2 separate regions of the Homo sapiens genome follow, and region 2 is linked to region 1. The links are contacts of gene promoters, found by promoter capture Hi-C in human tissues and cell types (Jung and others, 2019). All regions are on one chromosome and are shown on one strand. Each heading gives the region's core, a stretch centred on a gene start or on the middle of the fragment in contact. The rest is flanking DNA. Distances are from core to core; before and after follow the strand shown.

Evidence for each region. The method cuts DNA at HindIII sites, captures the fragments that hold promoters and counts their contacts. A contact is called where the count stands out against the background at its distance.
Region 2: a fragment that was not itself captured here is called in contact with the fragment with the promoter of FYCO1 in region 1 in 1 of the 25 tissues and cell types used here (H1 embryonic stem cells).

What each region holds. Positions count from the first base shown.
Region 1 is chr3:45,993,614-46,000,202 of GRCh38, reverse strand. FYCO1 (FYVE and coiled-coil domain autophagy adaptor 1) reads left to right here and starts at 4,379. Exons shown (of 18, transcript NM_024513.4): 1 at 4,379-4,481. LOC105377063 (a long non-coding RNA gene) reads right to left here and starts at 4,300. Exons shown (of 3, transcript XR_940799.3): 1 at 4,114-4,300. RefSeq lists enhancers at 4,351-4,510, 4,531-4,580, 4,081-4,580. The HindIII fragment of the contact is 4,281 bases long and covers 951-5,231 here.
Region 2 is chr3:46,030,150-46,036,703 of GRCh38, reverse strand. It overlaps a transcript of XCR1 not described here. Among named protein-coding and RNA genes, the nearest start is that of XCR1, 5.9 kb to the right of the region's middle. RefSeq lists an enhancer at 5,383-5,883 and a silencer at 6,483-6,554. The HindIII fragment of the contact is 5,711 bases long and covers 1-4,173 here.

The sequences.
Region 1 (6,589 bases), core at 3,130-5,629:
TTATATAATGAAGCCTCCATAAAAACCCAAGTGGCCTGGGTTCACAGAGTTTCCATACCACGTGGAGGTTCCTGGGGGGTGGTATGCCCAGGGAGAGCATGGAAGCTCTGGCGCCCCTTCCCCCATACCTTGCCCTGTGTATCGTCTCTTTATCTGTATCCTTTGTAATATCCTTTTAATAAACTGGTAAATGTGTTTCCCTGAGTTCTGTGAGGTGCTTCAGTAAACCAATCAAACCCAAAGAGGAGGTCTTGGGAACCCCAACTCAAAGCTGGTCAGTCAAAAGTTCTGGAGGGCCGGACTTGTGACTGGTATCTAAGGAGGGAAGCATGATTCTTGGGTTGTGGGCCCCAAAGTGGCAGGCTCTGACACCATCTTCAGGTAGACAGTGTCAGAATTCAATTGGAGGACACCCAGTTGGTATCTGCTGCAGAAGTGATTGCTTGCTTTGTGGTGGAAAGGAATCCTCAGGAAATGCAGAAGTCTTCTGTGTTGATTGTTGTGGTGTGAGAACAGAGGAAAACCGGTTTGAGAGTTTTTCCCGAACAGTAACTATAATGTATTGAGAAAATGGGACACCACTGGGAGTGAACAGAGGTGCTGTGAATATTCATGCTGGGATAACAGGGCTCTCTTGGCTGAACCAGGAAGTATAGTCCCCTTATTCTGTGGGAAATGCTATTTTCTATTATTATCACTTAAAATGGAAAAAGTCTAAATCTGTATTATCAAGAGCTTATTTTAAAATTTCAAAAGTTTTCAGTTGATGAAGGGTTGAGGAGAAAAGTCAATAGTAGAGTTATGGAGAAAAAATTCTGGAAAATATACATGTCAGAATTCAAACCAAATTCCGGAGCCCTGAGGTCCACATCCTTCTGCATTGTCTATGAATCATTACTGAAAAGCTGTGTTCTGTAGGGGAAGATAGCTCAACCAGCTTAGAGCTGTTGATTCTGCAGTCAACTTCTGATTCCTTCCGTGGGTCTTACACTCGAATTTTCCAGCAGAGAGATTAATTGACCAGTGACTATCAAGAGGAGGCTGACTCTTTTGAGCTGCCACCCCATGCCATTGGCATGGCTGGCATCCACTTCTGGCCTGACCAGCAGGGGCCACAATGGTAGGGTCCTTGGCAGAGCACATGGCTGCCCCATGGAAGGAGCTGCCATCACAGTGGTTAAAGGCTTAAACTCTAATTGGACAGACCTGAGCTCAAAATTTGTCTCTGCCACTATAAGGTTTGGGCTTTAGGCAAATTAGCTAACTTCTCTAAGGCTGTTTGCTTATCTGCTTAATGTGGATAATTATGTATCATGAGACTGATATAAGGATAAAACTAAACCAGGTGTGGAATACACATAACATGGCACCTGGCACATAAAAAGCCCTTAACAATCATTCCAAGAGCCTCATCCCTCCTCAGGGCCGTGGGCACGGTCAGCTTCCCGTGAGGAATAGTCTCCTCTTCTGCCACTTGTTAAGGCTGTAAGGAGAGGGTGTGGGGATTTGGTGATTTTGAATCTGATCTCTTAATGTGTATTCACATCAGAACACAAGAATATGCTGCGTTTGTTTGTATGTTTGTTTGAAAGATTATAGTTTGAAATACTCTGCTGTATCTATAAAGGAAATCCAAGTTAAACTACCTGAACAGTAGTGATTTTGTTAACCTTCCCTGTATCTGACAGTGTGCTGGGTGACAGAAGACCCCTCAGGAGCCCCCAGCTCTACCCCAGCCTCCACCACTCTCCACCACTTATTAGGTGGGTGGACCAGGACAGTCATTTAACCTCTCTGAGCTTCATCTCCTCATCTTCAAAGTATGATAATGAATACTAATTATGTCACCAAGTGGCTGCAAGTTTTAAATATAATGCTGAATGGGTTTTTGTTGTTGTTTTTTGTTTTTTTGCTGGGGGGCTAGGGACTGGCATATAGGTCCTCAATAAATATTAGGTTTGTTTTCCTTTTCTTTTCAAACTCCTTTTGGGTTTAAGTTTCTGTGGTATTATGATGTCTGTCTATCTGTCTGTCTATCTATCTATCTATCTATCTATCTATCTATCTATCTATCTATCTATCTTGGTTTTCTTCCATGGTTCCTGGCTCATAACTCCCATAGCCCTTGTTACAGTCTTTTGTTATGTTAGGTATGTTAGGCTTCAGGAAACCGAATCTCTCTGGCCTTCTGCCCTCCTTTCACCTGCTTTAAGGCAGGACTCTAATCTTCCCCCGCCTTTCTTTCTTTTTTTTTTTCTTTAAGATGGAGTTTTGCTCTTGTTGCCCAGGCTGGAGTGCAATGGCTCGATCTTGGCTCACCGCAACCTCCGCCTCCCGGGTTCAAGCGATTCTCCTGCCTCAGCCTCCCTAGAAGCTGGGATTATAGGCATGTGCCACCACGCCCGGCTAATTTTGTATTTTTAATAGAGATGGGGTTTCTCCATGTTGGTCAGGCTGGTCTCAAACTCCCGACCTCAGGTGATCCGCCCACCTCGGCCTCCCAAGGCGTGAGCTGGGATTACAGGCGTGAGCCACCGTGCCCAGCCGCTTCCCCCGCCTTTCTGATTATAGGTCTTAAGACCCTCCCAAGAGAGGGTCCTCCCCTATACCCTGGGGGAAGCAATGCTGACATCACGAAGCTTCCATAAAAGCCCAAGAGGACTGGATTCGGGGAGCTTCGGGATAGCTGAACACGTGGAGGTTACTGAAGAGTGGTGCATCCAGGGAAGGCATGGAAGCCCCACGCCCCTTCCTCCACACCTCATCCTACGTGTCTCTTTATCTGCATCCATTGCAGTATCCTTTATAATAGACCAGTAAATGTGTTTCTCTGAGTTCTATGAACCACTTTAGCAAATTAGCTGAACCCAAAGAGGGTGTCGTGGGAACTCAACTTGAAGCCAGTCATTCCAAAATTCTGGAGGCCTAGACTTACAACTGGTGTTTAAAGGTGAGGAGGCAGTCTTGGGGACTGAGCCCTCCACTTGTGGGATCTGATACTCCAGGTAGATAGTGTCGGAATTGAATTGGAGGACACCCAGGTGCGGTCCACTGCTCAGTGTGTGGGGAAAACCCCACACACATCTGGTCACCAAATTATTCTCCTGTGTTGATGATTGCTGTTGTGTAAGAGTAGAGGAAAAATACGGTTTGAGGGAGGTTTTTTTTTCCCCACACAGTTTCAAACAAGGATATTGGACCAGATGACCAACATTAAAATCTCTCTCATCCTTAATATTGCATGAAGCTGTTCAGACAGTGGTTGGAGCAATGATTTCTCTTAGACCACTACATTGATTACTTTTCTCTTTGTCATCTTCTCACTCCCCCCGTTTTCTTTCTGTTCTCCTTTCTGTTAACAAGAGTGGAAATCACTTCTATTCATGTACCTCCTCCCAACCCCACCCCCAAACTGACTACTCCATCCATCCAACTCACTGTTTTAGCTACATCTAATTTATAAAATTAGATGGCTAATGAGATGTCATAGCCTAAAATCGACTAAGAAATTGATTTTCTTTCTGTATTATTGTACCCAGACAACACCCTGCTTCCTCAGTTTAGAATGTTGGGCCACCACGGTTCCTGACTGGATACCACGAGCTAGGTCCTACAAGGGAGAGAGCTGTTTCTGGCTTAAATGATGAGAACTAGGGCAGAGAGTAAAGGATAGCCAGCCACAGCTAAGGAATGCAGTCAGTTAGAAGCCAAAGTCCCCGTGTAGTGTTCCTCTTTTCTACTGTGCCCATAGCGGACACTGATTGAATGCATTTTGTTCTATCGTATTCAGTTCCACAGTGCTTTGCAACACCCATCTTATAAATAGAAGTTGGGCTGAGGATGGGGCCAAAGTTAGGGGTGGTAGTTCATAAACACGTAGTTTTTGAGCACTAATTTTAAGTAAGACCCTGATATTAAGAAATAAGGGGGATTAAAAGATGGGAAATTAGGCCCACCAATACATGTTTTTCTATTTCCCAATATATCAAAATATTATCATTTTAACATGCAATCACTAAAAATTAATGAGCTAGTTAACATTCTTCGGACTCTTTGGTACCTAGGTGTATTTCACACTTACAGCACGTGCACGATTCAACTCGAACTAGCTACCTTTGGAGTGCTCCTTAGCCACACAAGAACAGCGTTGTTGTCAAGATGCCAGACCTTTGATTTGTGGCCCTCCGGGGTTGCAGGCGTTAACCTGGGGCCAGCATGGGTCGCGGGTGGGACAGTCGGTCCGGGGACTGGGCGGTGGGAGCACTTAAACCCCGCCCTGCGGAGTCGCCGGGAGTTGTAGTCGGAGCCCCGGGAGTCCGATGGGAGTTGCAGGCCTCAGCCCCGGGGAGCACGCCGGGAGTTGTAGTCCGCCCCCGCCACCCTCTTGGTGTGCGCGTCATGGCCGTCAGCACCGCGTTCCCGTCCTCTTCCGCTTGGCCCCAGAAAGTTTCGGTTCTGCCCGGCGGTGGACCCACGAGCGCGTAAGTGCCGCGGAAGACCGGCTGGACTCTGGGGGCACCTGGGTCGCTCACGATCCCTGAGGCGAGAGCTTCGCTCGGGGCGCGGCTTGTCACCTGTTGCCCTTACAGTCCCCGCCCATCCCAGGTCTCCCTCAGACCCTGCCCGAGCGCCCCCGTCCTTGCCCAGCGGGCCGGGAAGCACCTCGGGCAGGTGGAAGCCGGCCCAGGCACCCAGCCTGCCTCTGTTGGTCGGTTAGAAAGACAGACCCCAAACACCAGTTCCAAGACCCCGGAGGGCGGAGGGCCCGCAAAGGAAAGGAGCCCACCATGCGGCGTCTCAGAACAAGCCTGAATGTCTTAGCGCAGGATGGGGCAGGCCCCGGAGTTCCTGCCTGCGTGGTCTTTAGGAAGTTTAGTCTCTGGCCCAGTTGGGCCGGGACAGCCCAGACCTTCACTTTGCAAGACTCCGCTGGTGCTCGGATCTCTGCCCTCTTCCCAGGAGGGGAAGAAGCTTCTTTCTTCCTGGCCCATCCTTTGGCCAAGACCTATTCACTATCCACTGCCCCTTGTGCCCATGCGCAGGGTCTCGAGCTAGCCCCCAGGGGTCTTTTCCCGAAACACCTGTTGTCTCTGGTGTGGCGGCACTGCACTGGACTGGAGTCCGTGCTGTTGAAACCTGGCGGGGGTGGGGCGGGGAGGGGGGAGGATGGCGGGATTTTATTTTTTGTAAGAAAAGCACATGTGGTTGACACGTTAACCGCGTGGCCCCCTGTTAAAGCACATGTATTCTCTGATGTCCCTGTCACTCTTCACTGTTCCCATTGGGTGTCCTCTCCAGAAAAAAAAATAGAACACTTGTTGAAACTGCCTGTGTTGGCCAGAGCCTCTCAGCCCCTCTGCTTGTCTTACCACAGCAGTTTCCTTTCCCGACAGAGAAATGGGTCAGGGGCTTTTGCGGGGCAGAGGATCCAGGGCTTAATCTGCTCACTGGTTCTCCTGCCCGTGCAGGCCTTGTGGTCTCAGGCTGCAAGCTTAATTCCCCTGCCATCTGCCTAATGCGGCTGGAGGGTGTTGGGGGCTGGTGTGGGGGAGGGGTGGGGAGCTGGAGCTATCATGCCAAGGTTTTCTGCTTTCAGTAGTTCCCACCTTCTGAAGTGGACCCCTGTTGAGTGAGCTCCACTTGACCCTCCCTTCTGTGACAACCACTGTTCTGAAAGCATTGAATGCCCCATACTAGTTGTGCACCGTGGTTATTATCACCCTGAAAATAAGAGCTAATTGTCACAGTGATGGATCTCAGCCTCCTTTGATTAATAGGATCTCTCCTAAAGGCTCTTGCTTTAGGAAATAGAGTTTATCTGTTTATGTTCAAAGTGACTATCTTTGTGTAGCACTTCATTTACTTTTTAAATTGTTTTTAATATTTTATTAGAAAAATAAACATACAGAATCACTGAAAGGATTGTATGGTGAATATCCGTATACTCAATTCTTAATATTTTACTTTGATTTTTTTTTTTTTTTGCAGTTACTTTAGAGATTGGTAACAGTCTCAGGCAGTGATCCTTTAGCTGTTGTTCCGATGACCTTTGCCCCTTGGGGCTGGGTTTGGAGCACCAGTATAATTTCAGGAGCCAAGTTTTTAACCTGGTCCTTTTTGAGGGGGATGGCCCCCATAGATGTTTGTGATGAGAGGAATCACCCATAACAGAGCAAGATCAGAGCAGCTGGTAGCTTTGACCCATATTGGTCACCAAGGCTATGGACTGCTGACTCAAGAATACAAAGTAGGTACGCAAGAAATGGCAGCCCCCTCACCCCCACCCACCCTGCTTCCCTTTAGGGGAGATGTTTAGCTGATAGGTAACTTTTGTTTACTGAAGATTCCAAAGACACAGCTTTGGTGACTCAAGACTAGAATGTCTTTAAACATGAGGCAGAGGAAGTGTGTTGTCTAGCTGTGGTCTTATGGTGGAAATCACTGGTAGGCACCTAGATTTAGGAACCACGTTCACTGCAAGCAGCCCTAGGCAGCAGGTAAGGGTCATTAACTGGTGCCTGTGATTACAGAGGCAACTTGTGAGCACAGATGAGTCCATTATGGTCAGGGCAACATCTGCTCACGTCAT
Region 2 (6,554 bases), core at 69-2,568, 40 kb before region 1:
GTTTATCATTTTATAACCTGTGCCAAACCCTGATACCTCAAAATATCTAGCAGAGACAAATATAAAGCCCAAACAAAAATATATGTTAACAATTCTTAAGACATTCCTATTTTTATTTTATTAATATTTTTAAAGCCAGTTCATTTATTAAAGATTTACTTAAGTCATGTGAACTTGAAAAATACTTTGGGCTTACTTAATTTATGAGTTCTGTTTTGTTTACAAGCCAATTTGTTAGACAAAAAGACATAGCATAATAAATGTACATACATAAACACATCTAGACATGCATATGCACACATACAAAGTCATTGGTTTACGTGGTTACACTTTATTTGCCCCATATGTAATCCAACATAGGGTGTGAACCAAAATTTTGGGTAAAGCAGTTTCCATAGCAGTTTGATTTTTAAAGGCCAAACCTCCTCAGACTCCAAGGAACACTGGGGCCAAACAGCACCACAGAAAACCACCTGGAACCTATTAACCAGGCCCAACCTGCTCAGAACAGCAACATAAAAGCCTGGATACAGGAAACTCCATCCCACTTTCTCATTCAACAGCAAACTCCGATTCCAAACAATATTGGGGACAAGCATTATTACAAAAGAATATCAGTTTATGTAATTCTAATTTCCCATGATACACACACAATCACCAAAACACAGTCTGACCACTGCAGCAATAAACAAGCCCCAAGAGTGTCCAAATTGAAACAGCCGGGGTCCTTCCTCTCTCCACTGGTTGGGCTTAATCAACCTGCAAACAAAAATTCCTTAGGAATTTCCCAAATTGAGAGGAGCACATCCTGCTATCTGGTACCCACAAAAGACACTCACTTGCCTGGACACACACACAAACAATTACAAACAAGCCCCCAAGAGTGTCCGTAGTGAAACAGGGTGCTTCCCTCACTGTCAGTTGGGCTTGTTCAACCTGCAAATGGAAATTCTTTCAAAAATTTCCCAAATTGAGAGGAGCATCTCCTGCTGTCTGGGCCCACAAAGGACACTCACCTATCGGGATGCAGATGTCAAATTTCAAAGACAGTTCTTCATAGGCAATCAGGAACACAGTTGAGACCAGCTGTAGTGGGGCCAGAGACAGACTGAAACTTATCTCCAACCAAAACTGAGTGGGCAGCTGCTTAGGAGGGCTTTTGAGACTCCTGGCCCATGGCAGCTGAGCAATGAGCAACTGTGGCAACACGTTGCTGGTTAGGGAACCAAAATCTGTTACTGAAATACCAGGAGTTTCGTCTAGGTCCCGTTGCTCATGGCACAGAAAACCAATGACTGAGACAATTATTGCCAATGAAGAAGGCTTTAATCAGGTGCTGCAACTGAGGAGATAGGAGCTTAGTCTCAAATCCATCTCCCTGACTGACTAAAAGGAGATGTTTACATAGCAGAGAAGAAATGTAACAATGTGTAAGAAAACAGGAACTATGGGGCCAGGCATGGTGGCTCACGCCTGTAATCCCGACACTTTGGGAGGCCTAGGTGGGCAGATCAGGAGGTCAGGAGTTTGAGACCAGCCTGACCAACATGGTGAAACCCCATCTCTACCAAAAACACAAAAATTAGCGGGCTGTGGTGGTGAGCACCTGTAATCCCAGCTACTCAGGAGGCTGAGGCGGGAGAATCACTTGAACCTGGGAGGAAGAGGTTGCAGTGAGCCGAGATCACACCACTGCACTCCAGCCTGTCGACAGAGTGAGACTCCGTCTCAAAAGAAAAAGAAAACAGGAACTATGGAGGGGCAAGGAGGCAATCATGATGAATGAAGGGTCTGGCATCTCATTATCTGGATGCGGTGATATGGTGAGTTTCTGGTGGTTGATAATTTTTTTGAGAGGCCTGAAGGTCTTTCCTGAGGAAGAAACTCAGGTAAAACAAATACAAGTTTTAAGCTTTAAAACCAGAAGCTTTTTTCATCAAAAAAGCTCTCTATGGGACTATTGGGTCAGTTTCATTATGAGAAATTAGTTAGTGGGTACCATGTATATTATTCAGGTGGTATATATCATAAAAACCCTGACTTCACCATTATGCAATATATGCACGTAACAAAACTATACTTGTACACATACATTTATATAATTTTTTAAAGAAAACCTAAACCTAACATTCTTAAGGGTAAGAAACTGGATGTGTTTCCCCTAAGAATAGGAGCACGTCAAGGATGTCCTCTGTCACCATTCCTATTCAACATTGTACTGAACATCCAGCTGTTGCAATAAAACAAAAAAAAAAGGAAATAAAAGGTATAAAGATTGGGAAAGAAGAGATAAAAATATCTTTGCAGATGACATGGTTCTCACAGTATAAAATCTCAAAGAATGCACAAAAAAACTCCTATAATTTATATAGCAAGCCTGCAGAAGGCAAGGCTAATATACAAAAGACTTGGCTCTTCTAAATACCAGCAATGGCCAGGTGCAGTGGCTCACACCTGTAATCCCAGCACTTTGGGAGGCCAAGTAGGGTGGATCACCTGATGTCAGGAGTTCGAGACCATCCTGACCAACGTGGTGAAACCCCGTCTACTAAAAATACAAAAAATTAGCTGGGCATGAGGGCAGGCACCTGTAATCCCAGCTACTCCAGAGGCTGATACAGGAGAATCACTTGAACCCAGGAGGCAGAGGTTGCAGTGAGCCAGGATCACGCCACTGCACTCCAGCCTGGCAACAGAGTGAGACTCTGTCTAAAAGAAAAAGAAAAAAAAAACAGCAATGAACACTTGAAATTTGAAATTGAAAACAAGACCATTTACATTAGCACCAAAAAATTTTAAATGCCTGAGCATCAATTTCATAAAATATATACAGAATTTATCTAAGGAAAACTATAAAACTCTATAAAAGAAATCAACGAAGACCTAAATGAATGGAGCAATATTCCATGTTTAAGGATAAGAAGACTCAATATTGTCAAGATGGCAATTCTTAACTTGATCTATAGCTATAATGCAATCCCAATCAAAACCCAGCAATTTATTTTGTGAATATCAACAAACTGATTCTAAAGCTTATTTGGAAAGACAAAAGACCTAGAATAACCAACAAAAAACTGAAGAAGAACAAAGTCAGGGGCCTAGCATTACCAAACTTTAAGACTTTATATAAAGTTACAGTAATCAAGATAGTGTGACACTGGTGAAAGTATACTAGCAGAACATAACAGAGAGCCCAGAAATAGACTTGCACTAATATAGTCAACTGATTTTTGTCAAAGACGTATAGGTAATTAAATGGATAAAGGATATTTTCAACAAGTGGTGCTAGAACAATTGTACATCTACATGCAAAAGAGGAATCTATACACAGATCTTACACCTTTCACAAAAAACTCAAAATGCATCTTAAATCTAAATGCAAAATGCAAATGTACAAAACTTCTAGCAAGTAACACCGGAGAAAATCTAGATGGCCTTGGATTTTTTATGAGTTTTTATTATTTTTGTTTTTCTTTAATTTTTGCCTTCTTTTTCTGATACCTAGGTAGGACCCCAAACTGAGGAGTTTTTGATACAATACTGTGAAAGAAAAAAGTAATAAATTAGACTTTATTACAATTTAAAACTTTTGCGCTACAAAAAAAAACCTTGTTAAAAGAATGAATAGACAAGCCAGATACAGGGAGAAAATATTTGAAAAAAATTTTGGATATAGGACTTATATCCAAAATATACAAAGAACTCTTAGAACTCAATGATAAGAAAACAATCCAATTTAGAAAATGGACAAAATATCTAAACAGACACTTCACCACAGATGATAGACAGATTCGAAATTGCATATGAAAAGATGCTCAACATCATATGTCATTATAGAATTACAAATTAAAATGTCAATGAGGTACCCCATGCACGTATTAGAATGGATACATTTTTTAGAACCTGACATCAAATGCTAACGTGAATGTGGATGTCTAGCAATGAGAATGCTCATTCATTGATGATGGAAGTGCAAAATGATCCAGCCACTTTGGAAGACAGTTTTACAGTTTATTACAAAGCTAAACATAGTCTTATTGTTACAAGATCTTTGGGGGGTCTCTTTTCTGGCTGGAAACCTGTGGCCAGTGGTGCCTTTGCCCAAGTTTTCCTCAGGCCCACTGGGCTTATCCTGCTCACTCAGCCTGGTAGGCTGCACTAGGCTCACACTACCAGCCTGTATCCCATGCCTCCAAGGGAGACTGTGAGTCAGGCATGAAGTGGCAAGGGCTGTGTGAGCAAGTGTGGGGTCCAGCATTGCATAGTGAGACATGCCAGCTATGCTGTGGGGTGGGCAGCTCCAGGTGCCAGCCTGGATGCTGGCTCTCTGTGAAGCTATGGCTGGACCAGATGCACCACAAGCAGCTTCCCCTGCTAGCGTAAGGGAATGCAGTGGTACACGGAGACTTAGAGATGCTAGGAACCACAAGGCCCCAAAGAGGAAGTCACGGTCCTAGCTTGGGGAGCACCCCAGGTCTGGGATCCCCAAAGGACCACAGCTTTTCTCTCCTCTTCGCCCATATGGCAAGCAGGGGGCATGTTTCAGCACTGTTTGTGTTACAGTTCTTTTAGCGTCACCATTTGGTGGGTCCAAAGTTCTTGTCCTGCAAACCAGAAGAATGAAGTATGCAGAGAAGTGCAGCATGAACAAGATGAAGAGCTTTATCAAGCAATAGAACAGCTCAGAGAAGACTCACAGTGCATAGCTCCTTTCTGCAGCCAGGGTGTCCCAATGAGTGTTCAGCTCCTACCAGAGAGGAGATGCTGGAGTGGGAAGCTCCTCTCTGCAGGCAGGTTATCCCATTGTCTCTGCGGCTCTCAGCAGAGAGGAGGCCCTAGAGTGGGTAGCCTCTCTTAGACAGGTCATCCCATTGTCTCTTCATCATCTCTCCATCCTCTTCCCAAATCTGGCTGAGTCCAGGGTTTTTATGGGCAGCAGAGGGGAGAAAGTCCATGGGTGGCCATGGGCCAGAACAAGGAAAGGCACCAAAAGGTCCCCCTGTGGTTCGTGGGACTGTCAGCCCAGCCACCTGGCTTCAGGCCTTCCCCAGCTTGAAGGTGGGGCTTCACCAGGGACCTGGCCCTTTCTGCCCAGGAGCTTGTTCACCACCCACCACTGTTTATGGGACTCAGGCTGTTCATGCCAAGGGTTGCCTGCAGGCCAGGAATGAGCTGCCCTCAGCGCCCCCCTCCTCAGCCTTCCTCCTGTGCTCATCGGTGCACAAAGTCCAGAGGGGGCCAAGGTGACAGGGCCTAGCATGTCAGCACTGCCCCAAGCATGCACACATCTGGCCAGGTTGCAACAGCACCCAAGCTTGGCCCCAACCTTACTCCAAGATCAGAGCAGGCAGTGACAGTGGGGAGAAGCCAAACAGCAGGAGCAGGTACTTCCAAGCCTGTGGGCAGCGGGGGACCTTCCCAGGCCCCCGACAGTGCAGAGATGCCTGGATCCATAGCTACAGCAGGGTGGCTGTAGCAGTGCCTTGGAGGGCGGGGCTCCTGCCTGTTCCTAGCTCCCAAGAGCACAGGGGTGCCCAAGTCACAGCCATGGCTTCAGCAGCTGCAGTTGTGCCTGGGGAGTTCCGTGTCCCACCAACTTCTAAGGGGCAGGGCTCCCATTTGTCCCCAGCTCCTGCCGGCTGTGTGGAGCATGCAGCCCCAGCCACACCTCCTCTCCGCATTTTCCCCACAGTGGTTCTGGGCAAGGTGCAGGTGGCGTGGTGGCCCTGGCCAACCCCGCACAAATGAACCTGACACTCCCAGGGCTAGCCCTGAAAGTCCCAGCTACACCTTTGGCCAGATACTCACAGGCTCCCAGAACACGGCAGGGAATGAGTTGAGGCTGCGGCAGAGGCTCCAGGCCTGAGAGTAGGTCCTGCCCGGCCATGCAAGGGTAGGGGTGGTGTGCAGTAAGCTGCCTCAGGGATGCAGGGCATGGGGATGCAGGGCACAGAGGTCCCACCACCCCCACTGCTGCTCCTGCAGCTGCTCCTGCCACCACCGCTCATGCCTCCCTGCTGCAGCTGGCATGATGGTAGCAGCTGCTCTGGATGGCCCACCACTGCCATTATTATCATATAATCCAATCACACTCCTAGTTATAATCGAGCTCAAAACTATGTGTAAACAAAAACCTGCATTCAAATACATATCGTGTATAAAATACTTTTTTATACATAGTGTATAGTGCATAAAGTATTTTTCATAATTTCAAAGAAATAGGATTAACCAAGATGTCCTTCAATAGGTGAAGGAATAAAAAAATCTGTGGTATTTCCATACAATAAACTCAAGAGATGCAGAATAAGCATTTAACAAAACCCAACATCATTTCATGATAAAAACACTCAACAAATTAGAAATAGAGGGGAATTTCCTAATCTGATAAAAGGCATGTATTAAAAACCCACAATTAACATCATACTTGTAGTGAAAGACTAGAAGCTTTTCTCCTAAGATCAGAAACAAGACAATGATGTCCATTGTCCTCTCCTATTTGACATTGCATTGGTGGTTCCAGCCAGGACAACTAAACACGGTGGGGGGAAAAGTAC